Regions from separate parts of the Homo sapiens genome. Here region 1 is linked to region 2. The links are contacts of gene promoters, found by promoter capture Hi-C in blood cells and fetal thymus (Javierre and others, 2016). All regions are on one chromosome and are shown on one strand. The core of a region is centred on a gene start or on the middle of the fragment in contact, and the rest is flanking DNA. Distances in the headings are between cores, read along the strand shown. Region 1 holds the start of OTUD5 (OTU deubiquitinase 5). Region 2 holds the start of ZNF630 (zinc finger protein 630).

What was found. Contacts are between HindIII fragments. The CHiCAGO score rates a contact against its expected background, and 5 or more counts as called.
Region 1: the fragment with the promoter of OTUD5 here is called in contact with the fragment with the promoter of ZNF630 in region 2 in 1 of 17 cell types (naive B cells); the score reaches 5.8 in naive B cells.

The regions. Positions count from the first base shown.
Region 1 is chrX:48,954,220-48,959,326 of GRCh38, reverse strand. It overlaps OTUD5 (OTU deubiquitinase 5), which reads left to right and starts at 1,720. Exons shown (of 9, transcript NM_001136157.2): 1 at 1,720-2,350. The coding sequence starts at 1,757. It also overlaps the pseudogene RNU6-722P. RefSeq lists an enhancer at 974-1,163 and silencers at 1,264-1,423, 1,624-1,673, 2,044-2,103. The HindIII fragment of the contact is 4,109 bases long and covers 1-3,045 here.
Region 2 is chrX:48,068,459-48,073,860 of GRCh38, reverse strand. ZNF630 (zinc finger protein 630) reads left to right here and starts at 2,221. Exons shown (of 5, transcript NM_001282201.2): 1 at 2,221-2,594. RefSeq lists a silencer at 1,883-2,079 and an enhancer at 1,991-2,250. The HindIII fragment of the contact is 4,069 bases long and covers 406-4,474 here.

The sequences.
Region 1 (5,107 bases), core at 471-2,970, 890 kb before region 2:
GGATTAGAATTATTGCCAATTTATAGAATAGAAATTAAGGATGGGTGCTCACTTCGCACCACATATACTAAAATTAGAACGATACAGAGATTAGCATGGCACTATGCGAAAGGATGACACGCAAATACGTGAAGCGTTCTATAAAAAAGTAAACAACAACAACAAAAATTGAGGACGGGGTGGGTTTTAAATGACTGACAAAGATCACTCAGACAGGAAGGGCAGAGCTAGGATTAGCGTGTAGCTCTCCAGCTACTCAATAGCAGGGATTCTGCCAACCCCATTTTGAGACGCTGACTGGTGACAGAGCTTTCATAAACCTCGATCGACCCAAGCAAACTCAGTTTTAGAAAAAGGCTGGGCTTGGCCAGGCGCGGTGACTAACGCCTGTAATCCCAGCACTCTGGGAAGCCGAGGCGGGAGGATCGCTTGAGCCCGGGAGCTGGAGATCAGCCTGGGCAACATAGTGAGACTTTGTCCCTACAAAAAAGTGAAAAAAAAATTAGCCGGTCGTAGTGGTGCGCGCCTGTGGTCCCAGCTATTCGGGAGGCTGAGGCGGGAGGATCGCTTGAACCTGGGAGTTGGAGTTTGCAGTGAGCTATGATCGCGCCACTGCATTCCAACCTGGGCGACAGAGTGAGACCCCTGTCTCAATTAGGAAAAAAAAAAAAAAAAAAAAAAAAAAAGGCTGGGCCGCGCCTGCGCACTAGCCATAGGGGCGGGGAGGTCAACGCGAGGCCGAGAGTGCTGTGGTGCCAGAGAAGGCGTGTCTGTTTCCCAAACAACCACTGTCCCCACGGCGCCTGTCTGTCCCAAGGTTGGTCGGTATGCCGCGAGTGACGGCGTCTCTTAACCAATCACCGCAGAACTCAGGCTGTTGCCGGGGCGAAGCGGTGTCCGCCTCCCCCGGAAGGGTATTTGTAGGTGGGTGGGACCGGAAGTGACGCTACAGGGGCCAGCTATGCTCCCGGGAGTGTTGATGTTTTCCAGTCATTCCGGCTGACAGCGTTCAAGTTGGAATCCTGGAGGGGAGGTGTTTTTCCTGTCGTACGTGGGACAGGCCACGCTGTCCGTCCGCAGTACCGACGCCTGCAGGTCAGAGCTTCGGGGAGAAAAGTGAAGAGCAAGACGGAACTGACGGGGAGAAAGGCTGGGAACCAGGGTGTCGACTTTGACTGAAATTTGAGACGGAGGGCACCGGAGGGCGAGCACTCGCCTGTGATTGGCCCGTGGGCGTCGTCGAGGTCCCACGCAGCTGCTCAATTGGTTGGTGTTGCAATTGTTGTGGCGGCGGCGGCGGCGATTTTGCCCACGTACTTCCGAGTAAGGGGCGGGGCTGTGCCCTGGCGCGCGTGCGCAGCGCCCCGGGGCCCCACCCGGTAGTGCAAGAACCTGCGAGGGGGCGGAGCGAAGAGGTGCTTGTTTTGGTTCTGTTTCCTTTGAAGCAGAAGGCCGGAACAAGCGTAGCAATAAACTTGCTGGACTTGGAGAGAAGGCTAAGACAAACTCGCCGCACTGCCTTCATCTTGGACTTTACATCCGGGTTCTCCTCTCGGCGTGACCCGCGCGCCGCCACCGCCGCCGCCGCCGCCGCCGCCTCCTCCGCCGCCGAGGGTTCTCGAACCGGTGCCGCGATCCCTTTATCCGGGTCTCGCCGTTCCCGTCGTGCCTCGCGCACTACACTAGCCCCCTCATCCGGGTTCTCTCCCGGCGTGCCCCGCGCCGGGTTTGTTGGGGGGTACTCGGCAGTGCAGCCATGACTATACTCCCCAAAAAGAAGCCGCCGCCTCCCGACGCCGACCCCGCCAACGAGCCGCCGCCGCCCGGGCCGATGCCCCCGGCGCCGCGGCGCGGCGGAGGTGTGGGCGTGGGCGGCGGCGGCACGGGCGTGGGCGGCGGCGATCGCGACCGTGACTCCGGCGTCGTGGGGGCCCGTCCGCGAGCTTCGCCACCGCCTCAAGGCCCGCTACCAGGACCGCCGGGCGCTCTTCATCGCTGGGCGCTGGCCGTGCCGCCTGGTGCAGTGGCGGGTCCCCGGCCACAACAGGCTTCTCCACCTCCTTGCGGGGGCCCAGGTGGTCCCGGCGGCGGTCCCGGCGACGCGCTGGGCGCAGCGGCGGCGGGTGTGGGTGCCGCGGGCGTGGTGGTGGGTGTGGGTGGTGCCGTAGGCGTGGGCGGCTGCTGCTCCGGGCCTGGGCACAGCAAGCGGCGACGTCAAGCTCCCGGGGTTGGCGCGGTTGGCGGGGGCAGTCCCGAGCGTGAGGAGGTCGGCGCAGGCTACAACAGTGAGGACGAGTATGAGGCGGCTGCAGCACGCATCGAGGCTATGGACCCTGCCACTGTCGAGCAGGTAAGAGCTGTGGGGTGAGGGGTGAGCGGCCACGGCAGATGGGACCCCCAGACTGTGAAGGGACTCAAGGAAGGCTGTTTGAGATCGCCCCAAGGGATCTAGGCGTTTTCACTGGGCCTGACAGTCTTCTCTGGCGGTAGGGATGTGAGACACCTTCTTTCCTCCCCTCCAGGATTTTGGGGCTAGAGGCCTACGGTAAGGTGTCAGACTTAAAGATCCGAGGTCTCTTTTAAGGTCTATAGTCGTCATTCCAGTCCCTGGGACCTCATCATATAGGGCCAATAGGTGGGAATTCTCCAAGAGATACAGGTAGGATCGCGCCCCTCTTGAGTAGGAGTCTCAGGTCTCCCAAGAGACTTAGGTATGTGTTCAGTGGCTTAAGAGCTCTTTTCCTCTGGGATAGAAGTTTGAGATTCCCCTTCCAGGAAAGTCAAATAAGGTGGAGACCTCGGAGATCGGGGCTGAACATCCCCAAGGAGCCTAAGCCCTTTCAAGAGTCTGAGACACTCTGCATATAGGACAATCCTCTCCCGCTTCGCTGGGTAACACTGCACAGGACCACTGAATAGCCAGACCTGAGACCTCAAGGGTCCTAAGTCTGTCTTCAGGGGCCTGAGAGTCCTGCTTCTAGAATCAAGGTCCTGACACACACACACACACACACGCCCCCTTTAAGGATAGGGATCTTCTAAGCTTTTTCCAGGGATGTAAGACTTTTCACAGGGAGATATGATTCCCTTGCCCTTGGGGACAGGGACCAAAACCAACACCCAATGACCAGCAGCTTTACTTATCTCCTTTCTGAGTGACAAAGGTCTGCATTTCCTATCAGTGGCCTGAGACCTACCTCTTGGGAGACAAGGGCCTGAACCGCTTCAGGATCTTAAGCTTCTTGTAAGAAGAGATGGGCCCTCAGCACCCCCACCAGGGGCCTGAACCTTTCTTCAGGAAAATGAGACTCACAGCGTTGGATCCTAGGGCCTAAGATCCACCTGCTTATGGACTGAGGTTTTTAGAGACCGAGTCTGAGGCCTCTTCAGGGGCCTGGTGTCCTGCTGCAAAGGTCTCAGACAAGGTGAAGTCTTTAGGAGATCCTTCTTCTCAAGGCTGGTGTCTGAGTGGTTTTGGGGATCTGAGACTCCCCACCCCACGAGCATATGTGACCCTTTTACCCCAATTATAAGGAACTGAAACATACCTTGGGGATACAGTATCCCATTTTCCCCTCTGTAACAGGGGTTTGAGGCCCTCCCACCTTGGGCCTAAGCTTTTTGTCAGGGACATACGACCCATGCCTTGGGAACTTGAGCCTGAGACGACTACTCAGGGGACATGGGCAACATGGGATCCCAGAGATGATGTCTGGGGCCTCCCTACAGATCTTTGCCTACTTTTAAGGGCCTGAGACCCACTCTGCCAAGGACACTTGAGCTTTCCTTCAGGGACAGGAGACTCATACATACCTTGGTGACTTGTGTGTCTAGAGGTAAGGTCTGAGCTTCCTCCTCAAGGAACTTAAGATGTACACCTGAGAAACAGGAGGACTCCTCCCCCCAGACCTGAGCCCTGAGACTCTTCCCTTGGGGCATGGATAAAGGATCCCTGTGGAACAGGGTCCTGAGTCTACCTCCAAGGGTTTGAATCATAACTCAGGTGTGTGAAGGCCTGTTCCCCACCTTAGGACCTGATTTCTGAACCTGCCCTGAGGGTACTGTCACCTCACCTCAGACAACTTACATACACCCTAGTCTTAGGGGTCATTTAGGGACATAAGACTTCCTGCCTCGGGGACTTGGGCCTTAGACTCCCAACTCCTTTTGGGGACATGAATAGGGTAGGATTCTGAGGAAAAGAGTCTGGGCCCAAGCTTTCTCTCTGGGACAAGATACCGTTTGCCTTAGGGACTGGGGGCCTGGCTCCCACTTGGGCATGAGGCTCTCCTCCTACCACACCAGGCAATCCTTTCTGTCCAGGGAGAGGAACGTGAGGTCATCCTCTCCCATTGGACAGAAGGACCTGGATGCTCTTCAGGGTCATATGAACCCCTTATCCAGAGCTCCCTCGTGGCCAGGGCCAAGAAGGTCCTCCTACTTTCTATGAGAAGATTGTCAGGTCCTGGGGACATGGAGTCTGGAGCCTCCCTTCTGAAACCAAGAGCGATTCCGAGTCTCTCCCTGACCTAGCTATGCTTGCTTCTCACCTCTAGGTCATATAATAAGTTTTGAACTGCTTTTGACAAGCTTTTTTCTTCCCAGGGACAGGAAAGGGGTTTGGGACATCGCCACTCTGGGGAAATTCTCCTCCCACATTCCTTTTCCCCTTGGCTCAGGTAAATCTTTCTGTACTTCACAGGGGCCCCAAGCCTTGTCTTGAGCTCCTTGTTCTTGGTCCCTTCCTCCCATCATTAATTCTGGCACGATAAGCCATTTGTACTCAAGGGTCAGGACCAGTTATTTCTTCTCTCTCTGGTTGGGTAGTTTCTTTCCTCCTCTAGAAGCAGGGAGCCATACATCACTGGTCCTAGGGACAGAGGAAAAACATCCTATGCAGCCATGATAATTCAAAAACACCTCCTTACTCCCCTCCCTTGCGATACATCCCTGGTCCCAGGGACAGAGAGAAAGAACATCCTATGCTGCCATGGTAACTCAAAAACACTTCCTTATGCCCCTTGCAGTCCCTCCCTTATACTTGTCCCCATAAGAACATAAGAGTAAGCCGGGCATAGTGGCGCATGCCTGTAGTCCCAGCTACTCG
Region 2 (5,402 bases), core at 972-3,471:
TGTAGGACTGTAAGATAATAAATTTGTGTTGTTTTGAGCAAGTAAGTCTGTGATAATTTGCTATAGCAACAACAGGAAATGAATACAGGCATCTTTGAAATATTCCATCATTGATGGCCCGTCTGGTCTATACTCAAACCATGTCCTTCTTAACTCTTCCACCATCCCTATCCCTCTGACCTCACCTCAAACCCCAGCTGTTGTTAGCAATTCCACCATCAAAGTCTCTTATCTGTGCTCTCCAACCTGGGCTTCTATTAACTCTTCCAACCTAAATCAACCCTTAATTTTACCTTGAACTGGGGAATCTGTTATCCATTCCACTATTAATGGGTTTGGATCTAGAGAGAGAATTCAGGGCTTTGAGGGTGGAAAATTAATAATCCTGGGTCTATGTGTTAAGCTTGAGTTTCTGTTCACTTTTCCATCACCAGGGCAATTTACATGTGAATCTTTTTGCATGTCTGTTAACTCTTTCCCCATTACTGCCCCTCAGTTCTTGCTCACTGCAACCTCCACCTCCCAGGTTCTAGTGATTCTCATGCTTCGGCCACCCAAGCAGCTGGAATTACAGGCATGCACCACCACGTCTGGGTAATTTTCGTATTTTTAGTAGAGACAGGTTTTCGCCAAGTTGGCTATGCTGAGTCCTGGCTTCAAGTGATCTGCCTGCCTCCACCTCCCAAAATGCTGGGATTATAGGAGTGAGCCACTACGCTCTGCATCCCTCAGATCTTTACACTGACTGCAGGCCTCAGTTGAGTCCTCTCCATCTATGATCCTTTGGTATGTACAGAAAATCAAGGCTGTACTAACTTTTTAGCTACTTGTGCCCCTTCTCCTGTATCCACCAACCCCAATCCTCAGTTAACATTTATTTTTATAGAGATGGAGTCTCACTATGTTGCCCAGACTGGTCTTGATCTCCTGGGCTCACATGATCCTCCCGCCTCAGCCTCCCAAAGTCCTGGGATTACAGGTGTCAGCCACTGTGCCCGGCCCTCAGTTAACATTTTTTTCTTATTTTTATTTTTTGAGACAGAGTTTTGTCTCTCCCCCAGGTTGGAGTGCAGTGTCACAGTCTTGGCCCACTGCAACCTCCACCTCCCAGGTTCAAGCGATTCTCATGCCTCAGCCTCCCAAGCAGCTGAGACTACAGGCATGTGCCACCACATCTGGCTAAATTTTGTATTTTTAGTAGAGATAGGGTTTTGCCATGTTGGCCAGGCTGGTCTCTAACTCCTGGCCTCAAGTGATCCTCCCGCCTTGGCCTCCCAAAGTTCTGAGATTGCAAGTGTTAGCCACTGTGCCCAGCCCTCAGTTAACATTTTTATCATGAATGCCATTTGGTTTGACTTTGAAGTCAGACCTTGATTAATTCTTCCACCATCATTACCCCTTTGGTATAGGCTGTGAATTCCGGGGCTCTGTTAACCACATCACGTGACTTTAATGGGTCTCTGGTCTTGGCTCAGATTTGGGTCTAAGTTAACCTTCCATTTAAGGCCTCTCTGAAATAACTTTGGAATTGGGTTACTATTGCACCACCAGTGCCCCTCTGATTTGATCTTCAAGCAGGATATTTGTTAATGTTTTCTCCATCCATACACCCTGATAGAGGTCTTGAATCCTAGGACTTTCTTAACTATTGTAACCATCAGAGTTCCCGTTTTGTATCGAACATGAACCTTTGTTAACTCTGCAATCCTGTTCCGGGCTGACTTCCAATCCAGCCCTTTGTTAAGTCGTCTAAAACCAATGTCCCTTAGGTTTTACCTCGAACCTCTGACTCTATGAACTCTTTTAGTTTTGATACGGGCTGCAAAAGGCCATATAAGCCTACTTGAACTAGGGCAGGCAGAAGTCCAGGCTGTAAATGACAGGTGAAGGTGGGCCCTTCCGTGTTCAAAGGAGCCAATGGAGGACCGGTGGGCAGTGAGTGACAGATGGGGGCGGGTCCTGACGCCAAGCAGGAACAATAGGAAGGCGGCAGGGCGCCGAGGCCAGGTGGGGAGAAGTGGGCGGGTATGTGTGAGCCCCCTGAAAGGCTGCATGATGTCAAAGGTCTCTTCCCTTTCTCCAGACGTTTTAGGAATTCGCTTCTGCGGAGGAATCTCCCGGGGGGTGCTCTGTCCAGCCTTCCCACTTTCCCCGTTTCCCACCCTGCCATGTCGCCACGCCTTTGCTCAGGCCGTGCCTCTTCTGGTGGCCGGGAACGCCCACTCACCCGGACAAGTCGCGGCCCTTCCAAGCCTCACACTGCTTTCGTAGGATCAATTCCGAATACCCAAACTCGGAGATATCACGAGGACTCCCCCGGGCCCCCAAACGCACCTCTCCTCTGGCTGGAATGGGAGCCTCCAGAAGCAGTGCGAGACCACGGCCAGCGACAGAGGTCCTGGCGCTGGCGGAATGACGCCATTTTTGTTACTGGTAGAGCTCGGCTTCGTGGCTGTTTCGGAGCCACCGAAAGATAAGCTCCCTCGTCACCCTGACATCTCTCCGGGAAGACTGGAAGGGAAATGGCCTTTCGGGGGATGTTGAACGCATTTGGGCAGGCGGGGAGCCAAGCCCGGCTTGAGAGCAGAGCCGGGGTGAGGGGCCTGGCTGAGTGCTGCGGGTCTATGTGATCAGTGACGGATGGAGACAAGTGGAGGGCCTGAGGAGGGGATTGAGTGACGTGGAGAACAGTGATAGGGGAGCCTGTGGGACCAGGGGTAACAGTATGTGGGTTATGCAAATGGGAGTTTGTGGGGTGATGGGGGATCTGTGCGGTGTTTGATGATGTCTGTAAGGGTGAGTGATGGGGCTTCTATGGGATGGGTGAAGGGAGTCTGGGGTGAGTGATGGGTGGTCTGTAGGGTGAGGGATGCTGATCCGTGGGGTGAGTGGATAGGGGGATCTGGGGTGAGGGATGAGGGTCTATGAGGACAAGAATGGGAGTGTGTGTGGGGTCAGTGTTGACATTCTGTGGGGTCCATGATGGGTGGCTTTTTCAGATCAATCATATGTGCATGAATGAACAAAAATCTCTGCTCCTGTGGTGTCCACATTCCGATGGAGAAGTCCAACTTGGTGGTTTGATTTGTATTTCCCTCATGACCAATAAGTTTGAGCACATTTTCTTATATGGATTCATCACTTGGAGATCTTCTTTTGTGAGGGGCCTGTCTTTTGTTCATTTTTCTGTTGGACTCTCTGCCCTTTTCTTAATGATTTGTAGGAATTTTTTTTTTTTTTTTTTTTTTTAGACGAAGTCTCACTCTGTCGCCCAGGCTGGAGTGCAGTGGAGAAATCATGGTTCACTGCAACCTCCACCTCCTGGGTTCTAGCAATTATCCTACCTCAGCCTCCCGAGTAGCTGGAATTACAGGCGCCTGCCACCACGCCTGGCTGATTTTTTTGTATTTGTAGTAGAGACAGGGTTTCGCCATGTTGGCCAGGCTGGTCCCGAACTCTTGACCTCAGGTGATACACCCACCTCGGCCTCCCAAAGTGCTGGGATTACAGGTGTGAGCCACCGTGCCCGGCCAGGAATTGTTTTTATATATTCTGATACCACTCCTTTAGTAGTGGTATGTGTTTTGCAAATATCTCCTTCCAGCTTTTGGCTTCTCTTTTCATTTTATGGCTTTAAATATGAAGATTTTCAGTTAATTTTGAACTGTAAAGCACATTCTTCAGTTAAAAAGCAGACAATATCGGCTGGGCGTGGTGGCTCACACCTATAATCCCAGCACTTTGGGAGGCCGAGGCGGCCGGATCACGAGGTCAGGAAATCGAGACCATCCTGGCTAACACGGTGAAACCCCGTCTCTACTAAAATTACAAAAAAATTAGCTGGGCGTGGTGGCGGGCTCCTGTAGTCCCAGCTACTGGGGAGGCTGAGGCAGGAGAATGGAGTGAACCAGGGAGGCGGAGCTTGCAGTGAGCCGAGATCGCGCCACTGCACTCCAGCCTGGGCGACAGAGCGAGACTCCATCTCAAAAACAAAAAACAAAAAACAAAAAAAAAAAAAACAGACAATGTCCTGTGGAATTTAGGAGGATAACTAATTTTTTAGGGCATCCAGAAGCAAGGGGTGTTGCCTGAAAATCTTAGTGCTAGGACAGCTTGGGAGGAGTTCTTTACTTTTTGTTCCTCTACCACCTCGCTCTAAATCACTGGCAGTGTGATCTTAGACAACTCATGAAACCTCTCTAGGCATCAGTTTCCCACTGCGAAATGAGGATAATAGCAGGGCCTACCCTGTGAGGCTTGGGATGAGAAGTGAGTTAATACCTGAATGTTACCTATTCGCCATAGTTTTGCAGCACTAATTTTGTATATATTTCATGGATCTTCCTTGAACTCAAGGTTACTGCTGCTCATGTAATACCAAAATCTGGTGAAGGAAATTAAATACCAAGGAATAAGGTTTTGTCAGCTATGGTTGCTTTGGAGGGTCACAACCCATTGTAATATCTAAGAAGCTTTTTTTTGTTTTTGTTTTGTTTTGTTTTGTTTTGCCTCCAAGAACTAATTTTTGTCCCCTTGGGGGCAGTATCACCCCCCAGTGAGAATGTGTGATCTACATGGTATTTTTTTTTTGTTTTCTTTTCTTTTCCTTTTTTTTTTTCTTTGACAGGGTCTCATTCTGTTGCCCAGGCTGGAGTGCAATGGCGTGATCTCAGCACATTGCAACCTCCGCCTCCCGGATTCAAGTGACTCTCCTGCCTCAGCCTGCCAAGTAGCCAGGACTACAGGTGTGCACCACCACGCCCGGCTAATTTTGTTTATTTTTTGTAGAAACGAGGTCTCACTATGTTGCTCAGGCTGGCCTCGAACTCCTGGACTCAAGCAATCCTCTTGCCTTGGCCTCCCAAAGTACTGGGATGACAGGTGTGAGCCACCACCCCTGGCCTGTTATTCTGTTATTAAACAATTAGGAATACATTCTTGTGTTCTGCCTCTTCTTCATTTTACAGTGATGTTTCCATGCCATTAACTTAATTCCCGTAGTACGACTTGGTTTATTTCTATGGTAATACTTAACTATAAACCTTTCTTATGGAAATTTTCAAGCATCCACAAAAATAGAGGGAATTGTATAATGGAACCCCATTATGCCCACCACCCAGTCTCATCAGTCATCAACTCATGGCCCATCTTGTTTTATCTAGACCAGGGGCTGGAAAACTGGGCAGTGGGCCAAATATGACATGTTGCTTTTTAAAAAAAAAATACAGCCATGAGCTAAGAAATGGTTTTTTCACACTTTTTATCATTGGAAAAAAATCAAATGGAGAATATTTTGTGACCCATGAAAATGATATAAAATTCAAATGTCAGTGCCCAAAAATGATGTTTAATTGGAACACAGCCAGTGAACACCTTTAGTTTATGTATTGTCTAGGGCTACT